2 separate regions of the Homo sapiens genome follow, and region 1 is linked to region 2. The links are contacts of gene promoters, found by promoter capture Hi-C in blood cells and fetal thymus (Javierre and others, 2016). All regions are on one chromosome and are shown on one strand. Each heading gives the region's core, a stretch centred on a gene start or on the middle of the fragment in contact. The rest is flanking DNA. Distances are from core to core; before and after follow the strand shown.

Region 1 (5,401 bases), core at 1,277-3,776, 1.3 Mb after region 2:
TGTCACCCAAGATAGATTGCACTGTTGTGATCTCGGCTCACTGCAGCCTCGACCTCGGGGGCTCAAGCAATCCTCCCACCTCAGCTTCTTGAGTAGCTAGGACTACAGGCCCAGGCCGCTATGCCCAGCTAAGTTTTTTTTTTTTTTTTTTTTTTTGAGACTAGGTTTTGCCATGCTGTCCAGGCTGGTCTCAAACTCCTGGACTAAAGTGATCCTCCTGCCTCAAACTCCCGAAGTGCTGAGATTATAGGCATAAGCCACTGCACCCAGCCCAAGCTAAACATTTTTGCAATAAAATCCAGTCTTCCTATTTGTTAATGTTGACAACTAATTCATTTTTCAATGCGGCACAAGCCAAACAAACAAAACAAAAAACAAACCACATCTTCCAGAGTATTTACAACTGCTCGCCTAGGGTTATGATTCTGAACATGCATCTTTGTGCTGAGCTGAATGAAAATGTTGCTTTCAAAAAGGATGCAAAGGTAAAAAGAACCAATGGACTCTAACAGTGCTACTTTTCCCACCTCACTTCTACTTCGTATATGCTTCTCACTATCTGCTATAACTGAAAATGCAAGTAAGGGAGCTTGTTAAACAGTGGCTTTATTTTTACCAAAACCTTAATTCAGTATACTTTGGGTTGTAGCCAAAGGCTAGCTTCAGAATTCTCATGTGAAGGAAAGTTCACGGCCTTACTAACAGCTGTTTTCTTCCCCAACCTGAGAGGCTTTTTTTTTTTACCTACTCTTGGGTATTCATCTCTACTCTGAATTTTCTCCATTATCATCACCTTGTTACCCAAATCAAGGCCACCTTTTCCTCTGTTCTAGCCTTCTCTATCTCCATCTAGTGGCCAGAGATATCTTTTTCAACAGCCATAGTTCTTGATTGTATACAAGATAGTAACTTATGCAGAAAAATTAGTTAGAGGAATGTTGAGCACTTGCCAGATGGACAGAAAGGCTGGGGAGCCAGGGTGGAGAAATAAAGCCTCAAAGGCAGACAAGCCACAGGACCTATTGCCAAGGAAGACAAGGCACAGGACCCATTGCCAAGGAAGACAAGCCACAGGACCCATTGCCATGGCCCAGGAAGAGCCATTTAATTAGGACTGTGCAGTGGGAGGAAATTTTCTCCTCTGCTGTGCTCCCTTACTCTCCTCCAGGTTCAAAGCTCTGGAAAGGGGCATAGGACTGACTAAGCCCTGATCTTGTGCCATGCTTCTCTCACTGTAAGTGCCTGAGAGAGAAGAACTCCACTAGGAGAAGGAGACAGGGGGTGAGCAGTGATTCCCAGGACTCATACAGTGGATAATCCTCCCAAACACAGGAAGAAGGTGAGCTGCTAGGTAGCCAAAATATGACGAACACCTTATTCAATCATTATTCTACAGCGACTTCCCATGTCTAAGAATAAATCTAAACTCCTAAACAAAGCCCTGCAAAAACTGGCCTCTTCCTAACTAACTTATCCTCTTATCCTTGATCTATGGTTCCCAACTATAGTGGCCGCAAGGTTCTTAGGAATATGCCTGCTTCTTCCTGCCTCAGCTCCTTTATGCACACGGTTCCCTCTGTCTAAAATTATCTTATCACTTTTGCCCACCATTCTCATGCCTGGATCTACATTACCGAGGACTCAGCTTCAGTATCACCACTTTATGAAGGTTCTTCCAAGCCACGCTATTATAAAGTGCTTAGGATTGCCACAATGCTCCCTTGCAGCTTCATGGGTTTTCTTCACATGTTTTACATCAGTCTGGAAATATCTTTGTGTTTGCTTACTTGTATGCTGCCTCTATTCCTAGAAGTCTGCAAACTCAGTGAGATAAAAGTGGACCTTTCCAGGCTTCTGTTCTTTTTTCTATGGCACCTAGTATATTACTAGGTACAGAAAAGATGCATAGTAATTATTTCTTGACCACATAAAGGAATGAAGTTTTTCAGGTTTGCTAAAAAAAAAAAAAAGTAGGGCATTTAAGTAGCCCAGGATTTCAAACTGTGTTCTACAGAGTTGCTCCATGGATTGCACAGAAGGGGAAGAAGGTGGGGAAAGCTTCCTAGACCCCACTTCCACTTACATACAGTGTTTCTACTTATATGGCTTTTATAATTTAAGCTTCTCTGGAAGATTTCTCTTAAAGAATTTGCATCTAAGTGAGGTCTGACAATGAAGATTTAACTAGAAAAAAAATTACTCAAAGAAGTTAATACTTTGATGTCTGATATATATTCTAGGTGGTGATGAATAGCATTTATAGATCATAATTCTTACAATTGACTGATATCTTTAATAAACCTTTTCTAGAAAAGCATTATTGCTGGAAAATCTCTATGAATGTTGACCTACATGTGAATCTGTTTAAAATGTTTCTGCATATGTTTGCCTTTAACCTCCTTATGGTTTATGTGACTGCCTGATGAAGTTTTGTGACCACTAAAAAAAAAAAAAAAAAAAAAAAAAAACAATTAAAATTCAAATCTATCTCAGTGCTTTCCAGGTAGAAGACAGGCTTCATGGGAACAGAGACCATGTTTATTTGGTTCACTTCTCTATCTACTATCTTTGGAATGTGAGTGCCACATTGAATGTGGCTCATAAATACTGGATGAAGAAGAGCTTGAAATAGGTGAAGAGGGTGCTTATAGGTAAGAGTGACAGTAGAGGCCTGGCACAAAGTCTCAGAAATCAAGTGATCTCTGAGTAAATATACTAAGTATAACAGTAACCAACTTTTACACTGTTGGAGAAAGGGTGTACACACATGAAAAGGGAGAAAAGTTAATTAAACTTTATAAATATATATACATACCCAAGCTGTGTTCTCTGAGAAAGCCAGTATATTGATAACTCAAAACCAATCAGCACAATTAGAGTCCAGTTCTTGGTTTCTAAATACCATTCTCTACCAAAAGAAATCAAAGCTTCTTAGAATAAAGCCTGATACCAGGGCTGGGGCAGAACTAGGTAAGTACAGAGTGTTTTCAGCCAGAAAATAAGAACGTTCTCAGAGAATCATAGCTGTGACAAATGAAACTGATGTCAACTTGAAAGGGCTTCCAGGATGTCAAATAAATTTAAACATCAAAATGGATAATGATAATGAATTTTATCAATTGAACAAAATACGAACTCATGAGATTTTGCCAATAAAAATTAATGAGAAAGAACAAATCTTCCTATAGTAGAATGTCAATAGATATAGACAGAATGATGGAATTAGACAATCATCATTTAGCAATCATCATAGTAATAGTTTATCCAAGGGATATCAATGGATATAGAACTAATGAGTAAGAATTTCATGAAGAATTGGATTTTTTTTTTTTTTAAATTGGAGACAGGTTCTCACGGTGTCATCCAGGCTGGAGTGCTATGGTGTGAACATAGCTCACTGCAACCTCAAACTCCTGAGCTCAAATGATCCACCTGCCTCAGCTTCCTGAGTAGCTTAGACTACAGGCATACACTACCACACCCAGCTATTTCTTTTACGTTTTGTAGAGACAGGGTCTTGCTATAATACCCAGGCTGGTCTTGAACTCCTTACCTCAAGTAATTATCCCACCATAGCCTCCCAAAGTGCTGGGAGTACAGGTGTAAGCCACTGTACCTGGCCGAGGAATTAGATATTTACGTATTCTCAAGTTACCTTCCCATGACATTCATACTAATTTCAAAAGGAAAAGAGCAACTTCCATTGGAGAAACTGGGAGGTGATCAAAGTGAATTTCAACACGAATGGGAAAAGTCAGGATCGAATGCCACCTGATGGAGTGTGTGACACACATGCGGCCATCACAACTGGGACCTTCTTGCCCCAAATGAATAACCTGGTCCAATTATGAGGAAATATCAGACAAACTTAAATTGGGAGACATCCTAAAACATAGATCATCTGTAGATTTCCAAACTGTTCCATCAGTGTCATGAAAGTCAAGGAAAGACTGAGGAACTGTCCCAGTTGGAAGGAGACTAAAGACACATGACAGTTCAATGCAATGTGTGATCCTGGATTGGATTTTTTGTCATAAATAACATTATTGGAACAACTGAAGAAATTTGAATGGGGTGTATGAATTAGATGGTAGTAATATGTCAATGTTAATGACCTGAGTTTGATGGCTGTATTGCAGTTATGTAGAATAATGTCCTCGCTTGTGGAAACACACACTAAAATATTGGTTGGTGATAGGATAGCATGTGAGCAACTTGCTCTCAAATGATTTAGGGGAAAAAGTTTCTTGTATTAAGTTTTTTTCTAAGTTTAAAACTATTTCTAAATAAAAAGAAGATATACCAGGGCTGCTCTACATTCTCTGAACATAGTAGCCAGTATATTGGTTCACAAAATTCAAGACAAAGTAAAACAATATAGGATTGTTTTCATACAAGGACGTAAGAGGCTCCTTAATTGACCAACTATTGTTCCTTATACCTTAAAAATCTACCTCTCATATAGAAAATATGTACAGACCATCTCCTCTGCGGTACTCACTGTTCCAAAGATGGGAGATAACAGAGTGAACAAAATGAGCCCAGTTCCTGCTTGCATGAAGTTTGTCTTTTTGCTAGAAAGTTAAACATTGGGCAGGGCGCGGTGGCTCACGCCTGTAATCCCAGCACTTTGGGAGGCCGAGGTGGGTGGATCACGAGGTCAGGAGATCAAGACCACGGTGAAACTCCGTCTCTACTAAAAATACAAAAAATTAGCTGGGCGCAGTGCCAGGCGCCTGTAGTCCCAGCTACAGCTACTCGGGAGGCTGAGGCAGGAGAATGGCGTGAACCCGGAAGGCGGAGCTTGCAGTGAGCGGAGATCGCGCCACTGCACTCCAGCCTGGGTTACAAGGCGAGACTCCGTCTCAAAATAAATAATAAATAAATAAATAAAAATAAAGTTAAACATTGAACACATTTTTATCAGGGAGTGGGTAGAGTCACACGTGCGTGTGTCTGTGCGCACGCACGCACCTGTTCCTGAGTACTATGACAGTCTATTGAAGAACTCACACATAATTTTAAATGAAAAATGAATAAGAAAAAAGAGGTATGCTTTCCCTTTTTCTCTCTCTAACCACCCCCACTTTCTTACTTCACCAACCTTTATGTGCTGTTAATATGATTTAAATAATTCAACAACAGAATTTTTAAAAAGGAAAAAAATGAGCCAAGTACAGTGGCTCACACCTGTAATCCCAACACTTTGAGAGGCTGAGGCTGGAGAATTGCTTGAGCCAAGACGTTCAAGGTTTCAAGGAGCTACGATTGCACCACTGCACTACAGACTGAGAAATAGAATGAGACCTTATCCTCAAAAGTAAATAAATAGAAAGAAAAGTGTCTGGTAAATTCTTAATTTTTTAAAATGTGGATAGACCTTTGACCATTTTAGTTGAGC
Region 2 (5,393 bases), core at 767-3,266:
TGATACACACACACACACACACACACACACACACACACACACACGTATATACATGTACCCCAACCCATGATTTCCTTTCTTGTTTTAAAGGCTAAAAGTAAATGATAGAAAAAAAGAAGTTATTTTAAAAAGATTAATCTATACCTTAAAATAGCAAGGTATCAAAATACACGTACACAAGTATATTCTGATTGTCCAAAGCACTTTCTCTCTTTCGTTAGAGTTTTGAAGGTTGTCTTAGATTTAATCCATAAAAACAAAACAACAACACACACCAACACAACAACAGAAAAATAGAAGTGGGTTACATCCTCATGCTACCTTTGGGGGTGGGGACAACTGAAGGGATATGGGGGTAAGAAAAGGGGAAAACGGCATAGCATTGCTCCTTTCACAAAGAGACAATTGTCTAACTGTAAATAGAATAATAGAGTAGAACTCAGTCTCCTACGGAGTTATAAGTGCAAAGCTATCTCTCCGTGTAGCTGGCAGCAGGAGGTCGTAGCTGTAACAGGTTTGCTTGCAAGAGATCTGAACCACCCTTATTGTTCATGAGAATCCTTCAGTCTGGTCTGGCCTGGAGCATGAAGACGTGGGTGTGGAGCAGATGAGCAGACAGGCGTCGCACACCCTGGGTGTTTGGAAATGAGTGCAGAGAGCATGCAGAGAAGCCTTCGCTGATTTCTCCCAGTGACTATTTGGGAAATCAGAGTTTGTGACTTACCCATCTTGGAATCCTTTCAGAGAATCTGTTGTTCACCAATTTTCCCCTTTAAAAGGCTTTGTAAACTTAAAAACAAACGACAAGTACAATCATGGCTGTTAACACATTTTTATATTTTCTAAGTATATATATTTTTCTTTCTAAACACCTCACGTGGATGGAAAGTCAAAAGTGACCCGACTGATGATCATTTCCATGGCCCTGCATCCTATCCCAAGTTCATGCCGTTGCAGCCACAGAGAATCTCCCTAAAGGTGTTGCGCAATTCCAGGCTCCGGAAAGCGTAGATGAGTGGGTCGATGACGGAGTTGCACATGATGAGGACCAGGTAGGTGTTGAAGTGGGCAGTGTAGCAGATGCAGTAGGGGTTGGTGGGGCAGGTGATGATGAGGACCAGGTGGAGGAAGAAGGGGGCCCAGCAGAAGATGAACACGCCCAGGAGAATGGTGATGGTGACTGCCCCCTTCATGCATGAGTGTTGCTGTGGGGCCACCCCGTCGGCAGGTGGCAGTGCTGCTATGCGCTTGACGTGCAGCCGCGCAAAGAGGAACATGTGCACGTAGAGGGTGCCCATGAGGAGCATCATGGCGAAGAACATGGTGATGAGGCACACAATGACCATTTTGCTCTCCGAGTAGACGATGAACACCACGCCACAGACGCCGCAGCAGACCCAGATGGCCACGATCAAGGTGAGGGCCTTCCTCACGGTCATGATGCTGTGGTAGCGGAGCGCGTAAAAGATGGTGACGTACCTGTCGACGGCGATGGCCAGGAGGTTGCAGATGGAGGCCACCAGGGAGATGCAGATCATGGAGTCGAAGATGTTGTCCATGTGCTGGATAAACTGGTCCTCGAAGGTCAGGTAGTCGCTGTGGACGATGGCGATCATGATGGTCTCCAGGGCATTGGACACACTTACCAGCATGTCGGCCACCGCCAGGCTGCAGAGAAAGAAGTACATCGGGGAGTGCAGGTTGCCGTTCCTGACCACGGCCAGGATAACCAGGATGTTTTCCAGCAGACTGACGATGCCCAGAGACAGGAAAACCTCGGGCTTGATGAAGACCTGCTCACAGAAGGCGCTGCTGCTCTGGTTGCTGAAGAAAGGGGCTTGGAGGTGCTCCGAGCCATTAGGCAGTGTTGGCTGAACAGAGGGCAGGCAGCACGAAGCATTCATTGCTGTCAGAAGGGCTGATCCGAGCTGGGGCTCCAGCAGGGTCCGTAGGAAGCTGCTGCTGCTCACAGGAAAGACAAAATCTCCCTCCAGATACGTCTTTTGGATGCTCATTCAATCTGGCCTTAGAGTTTATTCTCCTCTAGAATAAAAGGATGGGGAGGGTAGAGAGACAGATAGTGAGAGAGGGTGGAGGAAGAGACAGAGAGAGAGAGAGACATACACACAGAGAGAAAGAGCGAAGGGGGAAGAGAGAGAGAGAGGGAGAGTAGCTAGTTAGTAGCTAGCATGCAAGTTTGTAGCTTGGAGACATAGGGAGAACTTTGCTGTTCCAGGAGGAGCAGTTTTTATCTTGTTTACATAGAAAAAATACACCATAGGGTCTCTTACCAGCTGTCTTCCTTCTGTCTCCCTCTCACCCCTCTGTTTGTCTCTCCTCACTTCCCCACCTGGGAACAGAAAACCTGCCACCGGCTGCTACAGTTACAGCTCTTTTCATGGCAAGACAGGGGATGTGTTACTTGTCGCTAGAAGTGAAGGGAGAACACTCAGGTTTTTCATATTGGCCAAGGGCAAACAACTCCTACTTAATCTTCAGCGCAGCAGAATGACCACTGAGCATCGGGCACCTCTCTGACTGACAGCAGGTACCTGGCCCTGAGGATTCTGCAGGGAGATTAAGAAGCAGACTAGTGCCCTCTGCAGGCCGCACGGCTGTCTGCTTGCTGGCTTGGCTTAGCCCTTTGTGTTTGTCATGGAAACTGCCACAGGCATCCACTCATCTGTTCATTTGTTTGTTTATTTGTTAGTTCATTCATTTGTTGTTGTTGTTTAGCAAACATTTATTGAGCGCCTACTATGTGTCAGGTCTCTGCTGAGTGCAGGAAATACAGTGGTGAGCAAGACAACAGCCACTATCTCAGGCTTCCCCGAACTCAGAGTCTGGGGTGGAAGAAGAGGAATCAATAAATGCTTGAATCAGGAAAGTCCAGGAAACCAGGGATGCAAAGAGGAAGAGCCCTAACCCGGACTGTCAAAGTTCCTGGAGGAAGGAGCACCTATGCTTTGACTTCAAGGAGGAAGAGGTCATATCCAGTTTGGGGTGGGTGGTGGGGTGGGGGCTGGAGCTGGAGGAGGTAGAAGAGGACTCCAGGCAGAGGGAATCACACGTCTGCAGCCTGGAGGCAGAGAGCACCCTGGCCATAGAAGTCATCACAGATTGTGGATGTGGAGATCCCATTTGACCCGCGGAGTCAGAATCACCCAGGTGTAAGACCTGAACAAGTGTGTTTGCAATTTTTGACAGGTGAGCTGGGGCATAGTCACAGTTGAGCTCCACTGAAAAAGAATCTTGGGCTTTTGAAAGTGCTGAAAGTAGTCTGCTCTGGTCAGAGCATGGAAATAGGAGACACAATCTGAGAAATGAGGCTGCACAGTTTCTTAAAAAGTTGAGAGGTGCCTGAATCCTGAAGGACAGCCTCAGCCAGATGTGAGAATTTGGACAGTACCTTGACAGCAATGGGGACTGTGGAAGAAACATAGGTAGGGCAGGAATGAGATGGGGTCTGCATTTTAGAAATATTCCTGGTTGCAGGGTGGAGAATGAATTAGACAGACTGAGCATGTAGGCCAGGGAGTCCGGGGCAGAGGGTGTTGCAAAGACCCAGGGTGAGATGATGGTGGCCTGGAGCAAGGGAGTGGCCATGGGGACTTGGAAGACTTGGAGGGTGGTCAGAGAGATTCAGAAGGTTGGATAATGCAGCTTCAGAACTGATGGGTTATGGGATCATGGGAGAGGGAGCAGTCAGAAACACCTGTACTTCTTTCTTACATAATGGGGAGGATGGAGATGTTTTAAGCTGGAAAATGTGAAAGGCAGAAGTTAGCAGGTGGCCTACTAATGTAGTGTTGTTCTTGGAAGTATGGTTTAACACTTGGTCCATGTTAGATCTGATTCCCCATGTAGATCATATGAACTCAGAAAACACTGAGTCTTCTCATCCCTACACACACACACACACACACACACACACACACACACGCACATTCTAGGTGAATTAATGATCCATCTCTCCATGTAACTATGTATGTGTGTGTAGGTGTGAGAAATATTAAAAATATGCATATGGAAATAGAAGAAAACTTAGGATCCTTGGGGTGGAAAGATCTTAAGCAAGATGAGCAATCCAAAATTTAGTATGGAAAAACACCCTGAACTAAGTTAAAAGAAAAACAGAATGAAAATATTTGCTATAGGTAAAGTTACTATCTCTTACATACAAAGACTACTTTCACATTAACTAGAAAAAGATAAATTACCCCTAAGAAAATTGGGCAAAGGATATAAATAATAATTTACTGAAGAGAAGATGCAAATGGTTAATAAACATGAAAAGATGTGAAGCCATCTAGGAAGTTGGGGAAATGCCAGTCAAAATGAGATTTTAATATCGTTTTCCCAGCTAGATTGACAAGAGATAAAAAGATGCAAAATTCAGGTAAGAATATCGGGAGGACACTCTCATGCATTTCTAGTGTTTGTGAATAGTTTCACCATTTGGCAGTTCTTACTAAAATAAAAAAAAAGCCTGTTGGTATGAGTTTCTGTCTATGAACTGAGGGGCATGAGAAATACTTTTGTTTATTTGCTTTTTTTAAAAAAATATTTTGTCAAGAGCATGAGTTTAAGTTGCCCTGAATATACATTTCCACTTCTGTTTATTTTCAACAGAACGACTTAATTTCTGATGCCAAGCCACCATTCTTCTAGGTTGGAAAAAAACACATTCTTAATCCTTTTGGGAACTTCTCTTACCCTCAGGGTCACATCCAGTCTGTGGTTTCAAGGGCATGAGTCATACATGTAAAGCTAGACTATAAGGCAGGGACCATTCATTATCTACTAGGTCTTTTCCTGCTCTGTGCTTGGCACGTGCTGAGCACTGACCACCTTTTCCTGCTTTCATTCTCTGGTCGTGTGCATCCTTCAAAGAGAGCAGCTGGGACCTAGTACTTAAAATCTGTGTCCTCAGAGGTATCATCATCACTCATGAGTGTTTATTTGGTCTTCTCCAAACACTACTTCCCACTTTCCTGGGGGAGTTGCACAGATGCAGCATTACGTTTTAACTGAATCTTGCATGAATGAATTGGCTTTATTAATAACAATTGTAGGACATGACAGTCTCTGTCAGTGTTTACCGTATGTTGTTGGCATATGTGGGGGTGTCTGTTTTGAATCAGTTATAATAAATGTAACAAGGAGATTCTTATTCTAGGAGATAATGAACCCAGGTGGTCTCTTTGCCTGAAAAGCTCTTCCTCAATTTTGTGACTGGTATACCCTCCTTATTCTTCAAGATCCAGCTTAAATGTCAACTATTTTTTACAGCTTTTCTTAAATTTCATACACTAATTTACCACCCTTTCTCCTTGCTGACAAGCTGACAGGGTTCAGTACTCCTTCCCCACTCTCAAAAGCACAAGCAACAA

What was found. The method cuts DNA at HindIII sites, captures the fragments that hold promoters and counts their contacts. A CHiCAGO score of 5 or more calls a contact.
Region 1: a fragment that was not itself captured here is called in contact with the fragment with the promoter of MC3R in region 2 in 1 of 17 cell types (endothelial precursors); the score reaches 5.6 in endothelial precursors.

Annotation. Positions count from the first base shown.
Region 1 is chr20:54,975,995-54,981,395 of GRCh38, reverse strand. No RefSeq gene overlaps it. Among named protein-coding and RNA genes, the nearest start is that of LINC01440, 440 kb to the left of the region's middle. The HindIII fragment of the contact is 806 bases long and covers 2,124-2,929 here.
Region 2 is chr20:56,245,355-56,250,747 of GRCh38, reverse strand. It overlaps MC3R (melanocortin 3 receptor), which reads right to left and starts at 2,016. Exons shown (of 1, transcript NM_019888.3): 1 at 933-2,016. The coding sequence starts at 1,904. The coding sequence ends at 933. RefSeq lists a silencer at 2,546-2,615. The HindIII fragment of the contact is 15,724 bases long and covers 1-5,393 here.